4 separate regions of the Homo sapiens genome follow, and all the other regions are linked to region 1. The links are contacts of gene promoters, found by promoter capture Hi-C in blood cells and fetal thymus (Javierre and others, 2016). All regions are on one chromosome and are shown on one strand. The core of a region is centred on a gene start or on the middle of the fragment in contact, and the rest is flanking DNA. Distances in the headings are between cores, read along the strand shown. Region 1 holds the start of LINC01531 (long intergenic non-protein coding RNA 1531). Region 2 holds the start of SDHAF1 (succinate dehydrogenase complex assembly factor 1). Region 3 holds the start of LINC01801 (long intergenic non-protein coding RNA 1801). Region 4 holds the start of LRFN3 (leucine rich repeat and fibronectin type III domain containing 3).

Region 1 (2,865 bases), core at 115-2,614:
AACTTCAGAAGTAGAGGACCAGATGAATGGGAGTGGCCCTGCCGCCACGGGGCTGAGCTCCACCGCTTTTGTCCTGCTCCTCCTCGCCAGGCCCTGACCATCTCTCCACTGACTTGTCCTGGCCCCTTTTCCATTTCTGTGGCCTCTTCCCTCTCCTCCTTGGAGAGTAGCCTGTCCTCTGCTCCCTGCATGCTCTCCTTCCATCCCGTCTCTTCCTGGGGTTATGATCCCAGCAACCTCTTCCCTGAGCCCAGGCGAGGTCAGGTCCCTTGCCTTTTCCTGCAGGTAGATGGGTGGGTTTTCAAAGATGTCTGGTTTCAGAAGCCGGTGGCATCTTGTCTAACTGGACCACCTTTTCCTTTTCCACCAACGGCAGGCTTTTATACCTGGAAGAGTCATGTGGTCAAAAAGAGGAAAGTCAGTGGTTGAGCTCTTTCTAAAGCAGCTTGACCTTCTGGGTCTCCCACCAGATTTTGTCCCCAACAGACTTATTTCACCCAGAGTCCAATTTTTTTTTTTTTGAGGCAGAGTCTTGCTCTATCACCCAGGCTGGAGTTTAGTGGTGCGATCTCAGCTCACTGCAACCTCTGCCTCCCTAGTTCAAGTGATTCTCCTACCCCAGCCTTCCAAGTAGTGGGATTACAGGTGTGCAACACCACGCCCGACTAATTTTTGTATTTTTTGTAGACAGGGTTTCACCATGTTGGCCAGGCTAGTCTCGAACTCCGAACCTCAAGTGATCCGCCTGCCTTGCCTCCCAAAGTGCTGGGATTACAGGCGTGAGCCACTGTGCTCAGCCCAGAATCCAAATTTGAACAGTTTTTTCAGGCTTCCTCCTCCCCCTACATTCCAAGAGGTTGAATTCTGTTTCCTTCCCATGGGCAATTATCCCACACGACTACACGCACATCCATCTCTCACTTCCGCTTTTTCTTTCTTTCTTTCTTATTTTGTTGTTGTTGTTTTGAGACAGGGTCCCACTCTGTTGCCCAGGCTAGAGTTCAGTGGTGCAATCGCGGCCCACTGCAGCCTTCACCTTTCGGGCTCAAGTGATCCTCACACCTCAGCCTCCCGAGAAGCTGGGCCACAGGTGCACGCCACTGCATCTGGCTAATTTTTTGTATTTTTGGCAGAGACGGGGTTTCACCATGTTACCAAGAGTTGTCGAACTCTTGAGCTCAGGCAGTCCACCCGCTTTGGCCTCCCAAAGTGCTAGGATTACAAGTGTGAGCCACCATGCCCAGCCCCAAGTTTGTTTTTAGAAAAAAAAACCTAGCATTGTCCCTTGCCTATAACAGACACTCAAATCCTTGTGGAATGTAAGGATGGAGGTTGGATGTGCCTGTGAATACTTGCTAGCTGATGACACAAGCAAAGAATGTGTCAGAACCTGCGCCTTTTGTCTCCTGTCCTTTATCTGCATTCTGTTGCCCGGGTTACTGGTATGGGGACATCTTTGGTGCTGAGGTCTAGGTTCCAATGAGTCAAAGGGAGAATTCAAACTAAGTTGTCTGGCAGCACCCCAAGACTGTGCTGACCTCACACACAGCTGTATCACGGGAGTGGGCAGTGCATCATCTCAAATCCAACTCAACTGAGCAATGGTTCGGGCTGAGTCACACCATGTATGAATCGGGGGGCGGGGGTATGTGGCTCCTCTCCAACAAGCCACACTGTCTGCTTCCCTGTCACAAAACACATGGAGCCGTTACTCTGTGTGAGGTACTGTTCTAGGAGCTGGAGACAAGAGTGAACAGGATGAACAGAAAACAAGTAGACAAACCAACAAGGCAATTTTACAGGAAGAAAGGAAGTAGGCCAGGCAAGGTGGCTCACGTCTGTGATCTCAACGCTTTGGGAGGCCCAGGCAGGAGGACTGCTTGAGGCCAGGAGTTCAAAACCAGCCTGGTCAACATAGCGATACCCCGTCTCTACAAAAAGTGAGATAAAAAGTCAGGCATGGTGGCTCACACCTATAATCCCAGCTACTTAGGAGGCTGAGGCAGGAGGAGGATTGCTTAAGGCTGGGTGTTTGAGACCAGCCTGGGCAACATAGTGAGATCCCCTGTCTCTACAAAAAAGGATAAAAATAAAAAATTAGCCAGGCATGGTGGTGCACACCTGTAGTCCTAGATACTCAGGAGGCTGAGGCGGGAGGATCACTTGAGCCTAGGAGTTGGAAATTAAAATGAACTATGATGGCACCACTCCAATCCAGTGGTCCTGTCTGGGGGAAAAAAAAGGGAAAGAAAATAAATCGGCTAGGCGTGGTGGGGTTCATGCCTGTAACCCCAGCACTTTGGGAAGCTGAGGCGGGCACATCACTTGAGGTCAGGAGTTTGAGACCAGCCTGGCCAACATGGTGAAACTCTGTCTCTACTAAAAATACAAAAATTAGCCAGGTATGGTGGCGGGCACTGGTAATCCCAGCTACTCAGGAGACTGGGGCAGGAGAATCACCTTAACCTGGGAGGCAGAGATTGCAGTCAGCCGAGATCATGCCACTGCACTCCAGCCTGGGCGACAGAGGAAGACTCTGCCTCAAAAAAAAAAAAAAAAAAGGACCAAAAATCAAACAACAACAACAACAACAACAAAAAGCAAGCAGGGAAATTGAGAGAGAGAGAGAGAGAGATGGGCAGGGCCTGTCAGGAAAGGCCTGGGACATTTGAATGGGTGAGAAGGAGCCACTATCTGAAGAGCGTTCCAGGTAGGGGCACCAGCGGGAACTTAGCCTGAACCATGGCTCGGTTGAGTTGGACTTGAGATGTCGCACCGCCCACTCCCATGATGCAGCTGTACGTGAGGTCAACACAGCCTTGGGATGCTGCAAAACAGCTTAGTCTGAATTCTCCTTTTTTTTTT
Region 2 (2,865 bases), core at 96-2,595, 590 kb before region 1:
GATGAGCCCCCTCCACAGATCTGCCCAGGGGAGAAAACTATGCCGCTTCAATCAATGTGCCAGTCTACAGGGCTCCGGAAGGAGTCAGATCCCCACACCTATCACCTCCCAGATGGTCCCTTCCAGGTGTCTGTGTGCGTGTGTGTGTGGTGGCAGGGGGGCTGGGGGTGTTTCAAAAATCCTGAAATATATAAAAGCTTTAAGACCACCAACAGGGAAGTAGACATATCCCCAATTTTATTCCCTTTGTCCAACATTCCGAGAGGGAAGGGGCAAATGAGTCAATGTTGCCCCTCAAAACCATCAAGTAGGGGCCTTTGGGGGTCTTCAGTTGATCAACCAGGGTGATAGACCCCTACCCCTTCCTCATGGTCCTGGCTTGTCACAATTAATGGGGGAAAGTTTTCCAGAAGGGGATTCCGGGCTTCTCACCGCTCATCAGGGCACCTTCCCAAAACGTTCTCAGCAAAAAGTCTGCACTTCTCAGAGTTAAATACAGGAGAGGGGAGACTCCTTGAGGAGCCAGAAGTGGGTATGTTCTCAGGGGTCAAGAGAAGGGCGTCTCAGGCTCTCCCTGTCCACCGGGGGTCGTCCTGGCTCCCCGTACCTTCGGGCAAGTAGCTCTTGGCTTGACACTGTCCAGCCCGCCAGCGTCCCAGGCCGCCCCAAGCCCTCATGGGGGAGGAGCACCGACCTGTCTCCAAGCATCGGAAAAGGCGGGCCTCCCTTGCCGTCCATCACGGGGCTCTCTAGGCCCCCTGCGTCGCCAAGGAGGAGTCTCTGACATCCCCAATTCGTCAAGCTAGTCTCTTAAGACCTCTCACCTTAGGCGGGTTCCCCAGTCCCCCCATGCAGTCAGGCGAGCCTCCTGGCTCCACCACGCCATCGAGCGAGTTCGGCTCTTCGCCTGTCACCGTCCGTCGGGGCGGGTCTCCGGTGCCCCCGTGCTGTCGTGGGGGTTCCTTGGACTGTCGCCGTCGTCAGGCTGGCAACCCACGCCGCCAGGCTCCCCGGTCGGGGCCCGCGGGCGTACGAAGGCGCCCATGGCGGTGGCGTGGCCCGAGCGTAGCAGCTGCAGCTGGCGCCGCCCGCGGCGGTACAGGTACTCGATGCGCAGCACGTCGGACCGCGGCAGGCCCGCATGCTGCCGGAACTCTGCCCGCACTCGCGCCTCGGCGCCCGGCTTCCCACGCCCGGCGCGCAGCAGATCGCGGTACAGGCTCAGAACCTGCCTCTGCAGCCGGCTGTGCCGGCTCATGACCGCGGCTAAGCAGAGACGCTCAGCGAACGACCTGCGAACCGCGGAGCCGCCACACAGCCAGCAAAGGCCAAAGGGCAAAGCCACAGCCACTTCCGCCCAGCGCTTCCCTTGGCCTCCAACTCCCGCCTCCCGCCATCCGGCGCTGCCGCGTCTGACTGGCTGTCGTTGCAGTTACGTAACAGCCGGCTGGGAGAAGTGGGCGGAGTCGCTGGTCGCGGCCTCCCACGTAGGGGACGTGTGTTCTTGAGGGGACAGCAGTTCTGGGGATCCTGGCACCGCCTGGAGGGCGTTATGTGTTCGGACTCCTAGGTCTTGGGTTGGAGGGAACAGAGGGTCCTCACCTAACTCCTGCATTCTGGGAGAAGAGGAAGCTAGGGGTTTTTTTGTGTGTGACGGGGTCTCGCTGTCGCCCAGGCTGGAGTGCAGTGGCGCGATCTTGGCTCACTGCAGCCTCGAACTCCTGGGCCCAAGCGATCCTCCCACCTCAACTCCCCTAGTAGCTGGAACCACAGACGCGCGCAACCGCGCCCGCTATTTATTTATTTATTTATTTATTTATTTATTTATTTATTATTATTATTATTTGCAGAGATGGGTCTCCCTATGTTGCCCAGAATGGCTCGAACTCCTGGGCTCAAACGATTCTCAGCCTCCCAAAGTGTTGGGATTCCAGGCGTGAGCCACCGCGCCCGGCTACCGGTTCGGACTTTGGGTCCCAAGGGCACGGGGCACTGGGAGAGACGCCGGGCACAAGCGTGCTTTTGCCGTCAGTTACTGATTCAAACCATCTTGGGAAGCTCCGTGCGTTCCCTCGTCCGGGGCAGGTCTGTGTCTGGGGTCCCAGCCCTGGGCACGTGCAGAGGGACGAGACCCCGTAGGGAAATGGCTCTCGGCCGGTTGGACAGGCTTCTCGGGCCAGGGGAAGACAAGCAGAGAGAGTGTGGGCGCCAAGCCCCCAGAGGCAGCGTGTGGCTCTAGGAGCTGGGTTGGTCGCGCCCTCTGCGGGTGGGAGTCGGGGCAGTGGACAGCGGTGTTTGGGTCCTTACCGACTGTTAAAGCCCGGAGTCCGGGACACCCTGAACAGTCGACTAGACTGCAACCCCGTTGTCCTCCCAGGAGCTTTAGGTGGTAGGCCGCAATGCCGTTGTTGTCCCCGCGGGCCGCCTGGAGGTGTCCTCGTAGCGCTAGGGAGGCCCGCAAGGACACAGCATCCTCGGGCCCCACCAGCACCGGAGCTTGGGGGACCCCTCCACCCAGCGCGCAACCGCGGCTCTGCACACTTGGGCCGGCAACCAGCTGGGGGGTCCATTCCCCTTCAGAGAGGAGAAGCTGGTCAGGGGCGGGGATTAGGCTTGGAGTCTTGGAGTCAGGGGAGAATCACAAACCACTGTGAATCCTGCCTGGCAGGTGTATGTATCTATCAAAAATACATGTCCTAGAACGGTGGCTCACACCTGTAATTCCAGCACTTTTGGAGGCCGAGGCGGGCGGACCACCTGAGGTCGGGAGATCGACACCAGCCTGATCCACATGGTGAAACTTCTGCCTCTAGGTTCAAGTGATTCTCCCTACCTCAGCCTCCCCAGTAGCTGGAATTACAGGTA
Region 3 (2,865 bases), core at 158-2,657, 570 kb after region 1:
TAAAGTGCTGCTAAAAGCAACAACATGGATGAATTTTATGAAGTGTTGAATGAAAAGACACAGCCACAAACAGGACACATGGTAGGGTTCCATTTATATAAAGTTTTTAAATAGGCAAAACTAATCTATAATGTTAAAAATTTGGGAGGGGCATAGTGACTAGGAATGAGCATGAGGTTGATTCTGAGGTGCCTGTGTTTTGCTTCTTGATCTAGATTACATAGGTTTGTTCATTCTGCAAAAATGTATTGAGGAATAGACAGATGATTTGTACACTTCTGTGTATGAATGTTATATTGTAAAGTTTCTTGAAGAATACCTGTTTACAAGAGTTAGAGAACATGGAAGCTCTTTCTCTGAGATAAAACATCTAAAAAGACAAAAATTAGCCGGGCGTGGTGGTGGGTGCCTGTAATCCCAGCTACTCGGGAGGCTGAGGCAGGAGAATGTCTTGAACCCGGGAGACAGAGGTTCTAGTGAACCAAGATCACACCACTGCACTCCAGCCTGGATGACAGAGGAAGACTCTGAGACTCCGTCACAAAAAAGAAAAAACAAACAAACAAACAAACAAAAAAGCCCTAAGTCATATCATGCCAGTCTCAGCAGTTTGAAACCCTCCATGGTTCCCATCTCTCAGTAAAAGGCAACGTTCTTATGACATCCTTCAAGGCCCCATGTAGTCTTTTGGTCCCTCTCCATCTCTGTCCTCCTGTCATCCACGTCTCCCACGTGCTGATTGGGTCTGGTAGGGTGACTGGGTGGCAAAGACCTCACAGAGGTGCCTTTCTGCTCAGGTGGCAAACAGGAGAGTCTATCTGGGCCCTGCAGGATGGATCCTTCCTGAGTCACTGAATATATTGGAGGTGCAGACAGCGCCAGAGAAAGGCATTGAGCCTGCCAGATCAGACACCGCCTCTTAGGGTCGACGGAACACCCAGGAGCAAAGACCAGAAATTGTGGGAGAAAGGCCTGGAAGGGGGCCGGGGAGAGGCACAGAGACAGCGAGGTGATGCAGGCTTGGTGGGAGCGGGTATGGTAGGCAATGGGGGACAGAGGGGCAGGGCACAGACAAAGCTTGCTGAAGATATGAAGAGCAATTGTGAGCCGGCGAATCCTTGGAGTAGAGGAGAAAATTGAGGTCTCCTGTTCAGCCCGATGCAGGTGAGATGCTGTTGGAACACGTGACAGAGAAAGGGTGTGTGAGCCCAGGGCTTGTGCACTAAGCGCACAGGAGCGAAGGGGGCGAGAAGAAAAAACGACGCCCAGCAAAGAGCGTCAAGGCCCAACCGCCTGCCCCCAACCGGTCTCTAGCGCCTCGTGACCTTCTGCACTCCGTTGCAGGCGTTTGGCACCAGATGGTCCCACGCGCTCTGTTCGACGGTTGGGGGCCGCGGACGCTGGTTGTCAGCAGCACTGGGTCAGCCGGTGAACGGGTGTGCAGCGTCCTCAGCGCCGCAGCAGTCAGCACCTGTGGGTGCTCTAGCTCTTTCCCTCGGGGTCACCGGAGGCAGAGCCTCCCCTACGCGGAGTAGAGGAGCAGCTCACATGGTGCGGGGGTGGGGATCGGGCTTCCTGGAAGGCTGGAAATGGGAGTTGGGATAAGGGGTTGGCGAGGGCGGGGCGGCACCGTCTACCGGGGTGACCGGTGTGCCCTGGCAGCCAGGGAGTCTGCTGCAGGGCAGGTATTAAGATTCGGAGAGACATAGGACAAAGAACCCTCGGCCTCTTCTTTTCAGGCAGCCGCCACAGAGGACACCAGATCATGCCAACACCCCCACAACTCCTGCCCGCCTGCAGGCAGCTCTGGGCTCAGGACACCGCCTGCAAGAACCTTTATAGCGCAGCTCTCCAAACCTTGGAGGCGAGGACATTCTATGTGCCCGCCCTGGAAAGGCCTGAACCTATAACATCTGGGCTGTGATGGTTTCTGAGGTGGACACCAGGTATTCTAAACTGCCCACATGCTTCACCCCAAAACTTCCCTTTCTAACAGGCAGTGTATTTTCACTTCTTTTAAAATATTTGGTAAAACAGCATTTAAGCCTTAGAAAGTTCCCCATCTCACCCCAGCCAGGGTTTGAACCCATGCTGTCTGATTCCACAGATCATGCATTTAACCACCAGACTTTGGTGTAGCCTCACCGTGTGTGCATAATGGATTACACTTGTTTATAATACTTGGGGTGCTTAGCACCATGTCAGAGCTGTAATGAGTACTTGCACTGTTAGGAGGTCTAACATGGTTCAATTTATAAGTGGACCATTGGCCACACCGGGTCTGGCTCAGTCTCCTGGGAGGATGTAGGCAGGGACCACCAATTATCAGCATATCTCCATGATGAATTTCTCCAGACAGCGTATCACTCTGTCACACAGGCTGGAGTCACAGCTCACTGCAACCTCGAACTCCTGGGCTCAAGAGATCCTCCCACCTCAGCTTCCCAAGTAGCTGAGACTGCAGGCATGCGCCACCACGCCTGATAATTTCTCTTCTAATTGAGCTTTGCAGAAAGCCACACAGCTGTCTGAGAGCTATTTTCTCCCAGGTATAGGGACAGGAAATGGCACCTCAGACTTCTGCAGATTCCACCCTGGCTTAAAAGCCCATGCCCCCAAGGACACCAATCTTTCTTACAATAACATAGACTATCTTTCAGGGTCCTGGCCAAGATGGACAACTTGCCAATATTAACTTTTCCAGGCCACAGGGATGATATATATCTCCATAGATTTAGGTCTTGAGTATTTTCTCCTAGAAATATTTCGCAGCAAGGGTCAGCACTGCAGCCTATGGGCCAACAAATTTAGCCTGTAGCCTACATGTAAGGCCAGTGAGTGAAGGATCCTATTAACAATTTTAAA
Region 4 (2,865 bases), core at 1-2,500, 530 kb before region 1:
GGTACCGTAACCCGCAGCCACAATGCTCCTCCCAGCCCGTCCCCACCTTGAGGTTTCAGCAGCCTTACCTGAGCTAGAAGCAGCCCCAGGGAGCAGAGTCCTAGCTCCAGGGGAGTCAGAGGTCAGGGCTCTGGAGGGAGCATCTGGTCATGCTTTTCCTGTCCCCAAGGCTTCTGTAGAGGGACTGTGTCCTGACTCGGCTCAAATCTGTGGCAACGGAGTCTCCAGACCTTAATACTCGGGGTTCCAGACCCCTAAATATTGGGCCTCTAGGGTCCAGTTTTACGGGTCCAGTTTGGGTTGTTCAGGGTCAGGGTCTCCCAGGTCCAGTCTTGGGATGCTAAGCAGCCAAACGGTGGGGTTTAGAGTCTGAGATCCGATCCCGGGGTTCTGCATTCAGATATTGGGGTGCTGAGTCAAGATTGGGAGGTCTCAAGCCCCAGATTTAAGCACTCAGGTCTGCAGCAAGGACTTCAGGCCCAAACTCGGGTTCAGGCCCCTTGGAATCCCACAGTCCAGATCTTGGAATTTGAGGCCTGAATCCCAGGGTTCAGGTCCCCAAGAGTGGGTTCCAGGGTACAGTACTGGAAATCCAGTCCCAGATTTCAAGGTCCCAGGCCCAGAATTCAGAGTTCAGCTCCAGGCTTGAGGTTTTAGATGTCAAATCTTGGGGTTCTGCTCCAAATATTGGGGTCTGTGTTCCAAATTGTGGGGTTCCGGCTCCAAATATTGAGGTCCCAGTGACCGATGTTGAGATTCCAGCCCCATATACTGGGGTTCAGGCTCCAGATCTTGGGGTTCCACGGCCGGATCTCGGGGTGCTGGTCCCAGATCAGGGTTCCAGGCTCGGGTTTCCGGAATTCCCGATTCAATCTGGGGGTGCAGGCCCCCGAGGTGGAGGTTAGGGCGCGGGGTCCGGGGCGGCGGCGTCCCGGCTGGCTTCCTGGGCTGCGGCGGAGGCTGACTGGGAGGGAGGGGACCGGCTGCGGTGGGGAGGGGGGCGACCGGGCAGCCCCAGGGCCGGGTGGGGCGAGGCCTGGGAGCGGAGGGACGGTCAGACAGACTGGGACACGCGGGATGGGGGCACCGCAGCGCAGGCGGGGGCGCAGGGGGGAGGGGCCGCGCTCAGAGACCCCTCCCCCGCCGGGGCCGAGGCGGGGGCCGGGCGGGGGCCGGGCTGGGCGGGCCGGGTCCAGGCGCTCCCGCGGCCTCCTCGCCGGCAACCCAGGGCAGCGCGCGCACCGGCGCTTAAAGGCGCAGGCTCCGCGCGCACCCGCGCTTAAAGGCGTAGGCACCCGCCCCTTCTCTCAAAGACGCGCCCCGGCCCCACCTCCCATGGAGTCGCACTGGCGCTGCTGGGAAAGAGAATCCCTGGATACAGAGAGACTGAGACAGAGAGACAGAGAAGAACGGAGATACAGAAAGGCAGACAAAAAGATGGGCAGGCTTAGATTGATGGATAGAGAGGAGAAAATGGAAAGAGGCAGAGAGACAGATTGAAACACACACATATTCGAGACATGGAAATGCACAGAGACAGCGAGACACAGAGAGTGATGGAGAGACAAGAGATAAGGACAAGTCAGAGAAAGACAGAAACAGAGATAGAGACGTGCGTGCGCGCGCACACACAGACACACACATACACACTCACACGCTCTAAGACGCAGCACCTGGGCTGTGAGAATGGTATGTGTGTATGTGCATTCAGTAACTATTCCTAGCCTTGAGTGTAGCGCTTCATTCCAGAGCCACTGGCCCCCCAAACCTGTCTCTTTCTGCCCCCCTTATCTCAGCACCACCTCCCTGGAATGTCCTTTCCACGGTTGGAGTTTCCTTACCTGGCCATGCCCAGCAATAGGCTTGATCTTTCAGGCCAGAGGGGCTCCTTCCCAAGGCTCCTTTCTCTGCCTGCAAGAGGGAAAACTTGTGCCATCTGGGATTAGGGAAAGACCTCAAGACACACTGACAGCCGGGGGCGGTGGCTCACGCCTGTAATCCCGGCTCGTTGGGAGGCCAAGGCGGGCGGATCTTTTGAGATCAGGCGTTGGAGACCAGCCTGGCCAACATGGAGAAACCCCGTCTCTACTAAAAATACAAAAATTAGCCGGGTGTGGTGGCGGACGCCCGTAATCCCAGCTACTCGGGAGGCTGAGGCAAGAGAATTGCTTGAACCCGGGAGGTGGAGATTGTAGTGATCTGAGATCCAGCCATTGCACTCCAGCCTGGGTGACAGAGTGAGACTCTGTCTTTAAAAGAAAGAAAGAAAGAAAGAAAAGCAGAGAGGGATGCCTTGCCTTGCAGGAGCCAGGCCAGGTGTCCTTGCAGTGCAGCCCACCAGGATCACCCGGGGGCACCATAGATCTCCAGGTCCCAACCTCAGAGTTTCTGGTTCAGTGGGTCTGAGGTGGGACCCAAACATTTGCATTTTTAACGAGTACCCAGGTGATGCTAATGTGACTTTTCAAAGACCATACTTTTTTTTTTGAGACAGGGTCTTGCTTTGTCACCCAGTACATTGGTGCAATCATAATTGACTGCAACCTCAAATTCCTGGGCTCAAGCAATCCTCCCACCTCAGGCTCCAGAGTAACTGAGACTACAGGCATGCATCGCCATATCCAGCTAATTTTTAAAATTTCTTGTAGAGACAGGGTCTCAATATGCTGCCCAGGCTGGTCTTGAACTCTTGGCCTCAGGCAATCCTCCCTCCCAGGCCTCCCAAAGTGTTGTGATTACAGGTGTGAGCCACTACACCTGGTCAGGGACCACATTTTGAGAACAGCTGGGCTGAACCAGGGCTATCTGCACTGCACACGGAACTGTCTACCACAACAGCTATGCTAAAACCTGGTGGGTTGAGGG

What was found. The method cuts DNA at HindIII sites, captures the fragments that hold promoters and counts their contacts. A CHiCAGO score of 5 or more calls a contact.
Region 2: a contact is called between the fragment with the promoter of SDHAF1 here and the fragment with the promoter of LINC01531 in region 1, in 10 of 17 cell types (M0 macrophages, total B cells, neutrophils and 7 more). The highest score is 14.9, in M0 macrophages.
Region 3: a contact is called between the fragment with the promoter of LINC01801 here and the fragment with the promoter of LINC01531 in region 1, in 9 of 17 cell types (naive CD8 T cells, total CD4 T cells, naive CD4 T cells and 6 more). The highest score is 19.9, in naive CD8 T cells.
Region 4: the fragment with the promoter of LRFN3 here is called in contact with the fragment with the promoter of LINC01531 in region 1 in 2 of 17 cell types (total B cells and neutrophils); the score reaches 7.4 in total B cells.

What each region holds. Positions count from the first base shown.
Region 1 is chr19:35,404,106-35,406,970 of GRCh38, reverse strand. LINC01531 (long intergenic non-protein coding RNA 1531) reads right to left here and starts at 1,364. Exons shown (of 5, transcript NR_040046.1): 1 at 1,290-1,364; 2 at 1-386. The HindIII fragment of the contact is 14,783 bases long and covers 1-2,865 here.
Region 2 is chr19:35,993,668-35,996,532 of GRCh38, reverse strand. SDHAF1 (succinate dehydrogenase complex assembly factor 1) reads right to left here and starts at 1,345. Exons shown (of 1, transcript NM_001042631.3): 1 at 221-1,345. The coding sequence starts at 1,258. The coding sequence ends at 911. RefSeq lists silencers at 889-1,008, 1,039-1,098 and enhancers at 1,159-1,238, 1,499-1,548, 1,883-2,382. The HindIII fragment of the contact is 4,511 bases long and covers 200-2,865 here.
Region 3 is chr19:34,831,411-34,834,275 of GRCh38, reverse strand. It overlaps LINC01801 (long intergenic non-protein coding RNA 1801), which reads left to right and starts at 1,407. Exons shown (of 6, transcript NR_033982.1): 1 at 1,407-1,551; 2 at 1,740-1,946. The HindIII fragment of the contact is 2,823 bases long and covers 1,080-2,865 here.
Region 4 is chr19:35,934,759-35,937,623 of GRCh38, reverse strand. LRFN3 (leucine rich repeat and fibronectin type III domain containing 3) reads right to left here and starts at 1,250. Exons shown (of 3, transcript NM_024509.2): 1 at 69-1,250. The HindIII fragment of the contact is 21,793 bases long and covers 1-2,865 here.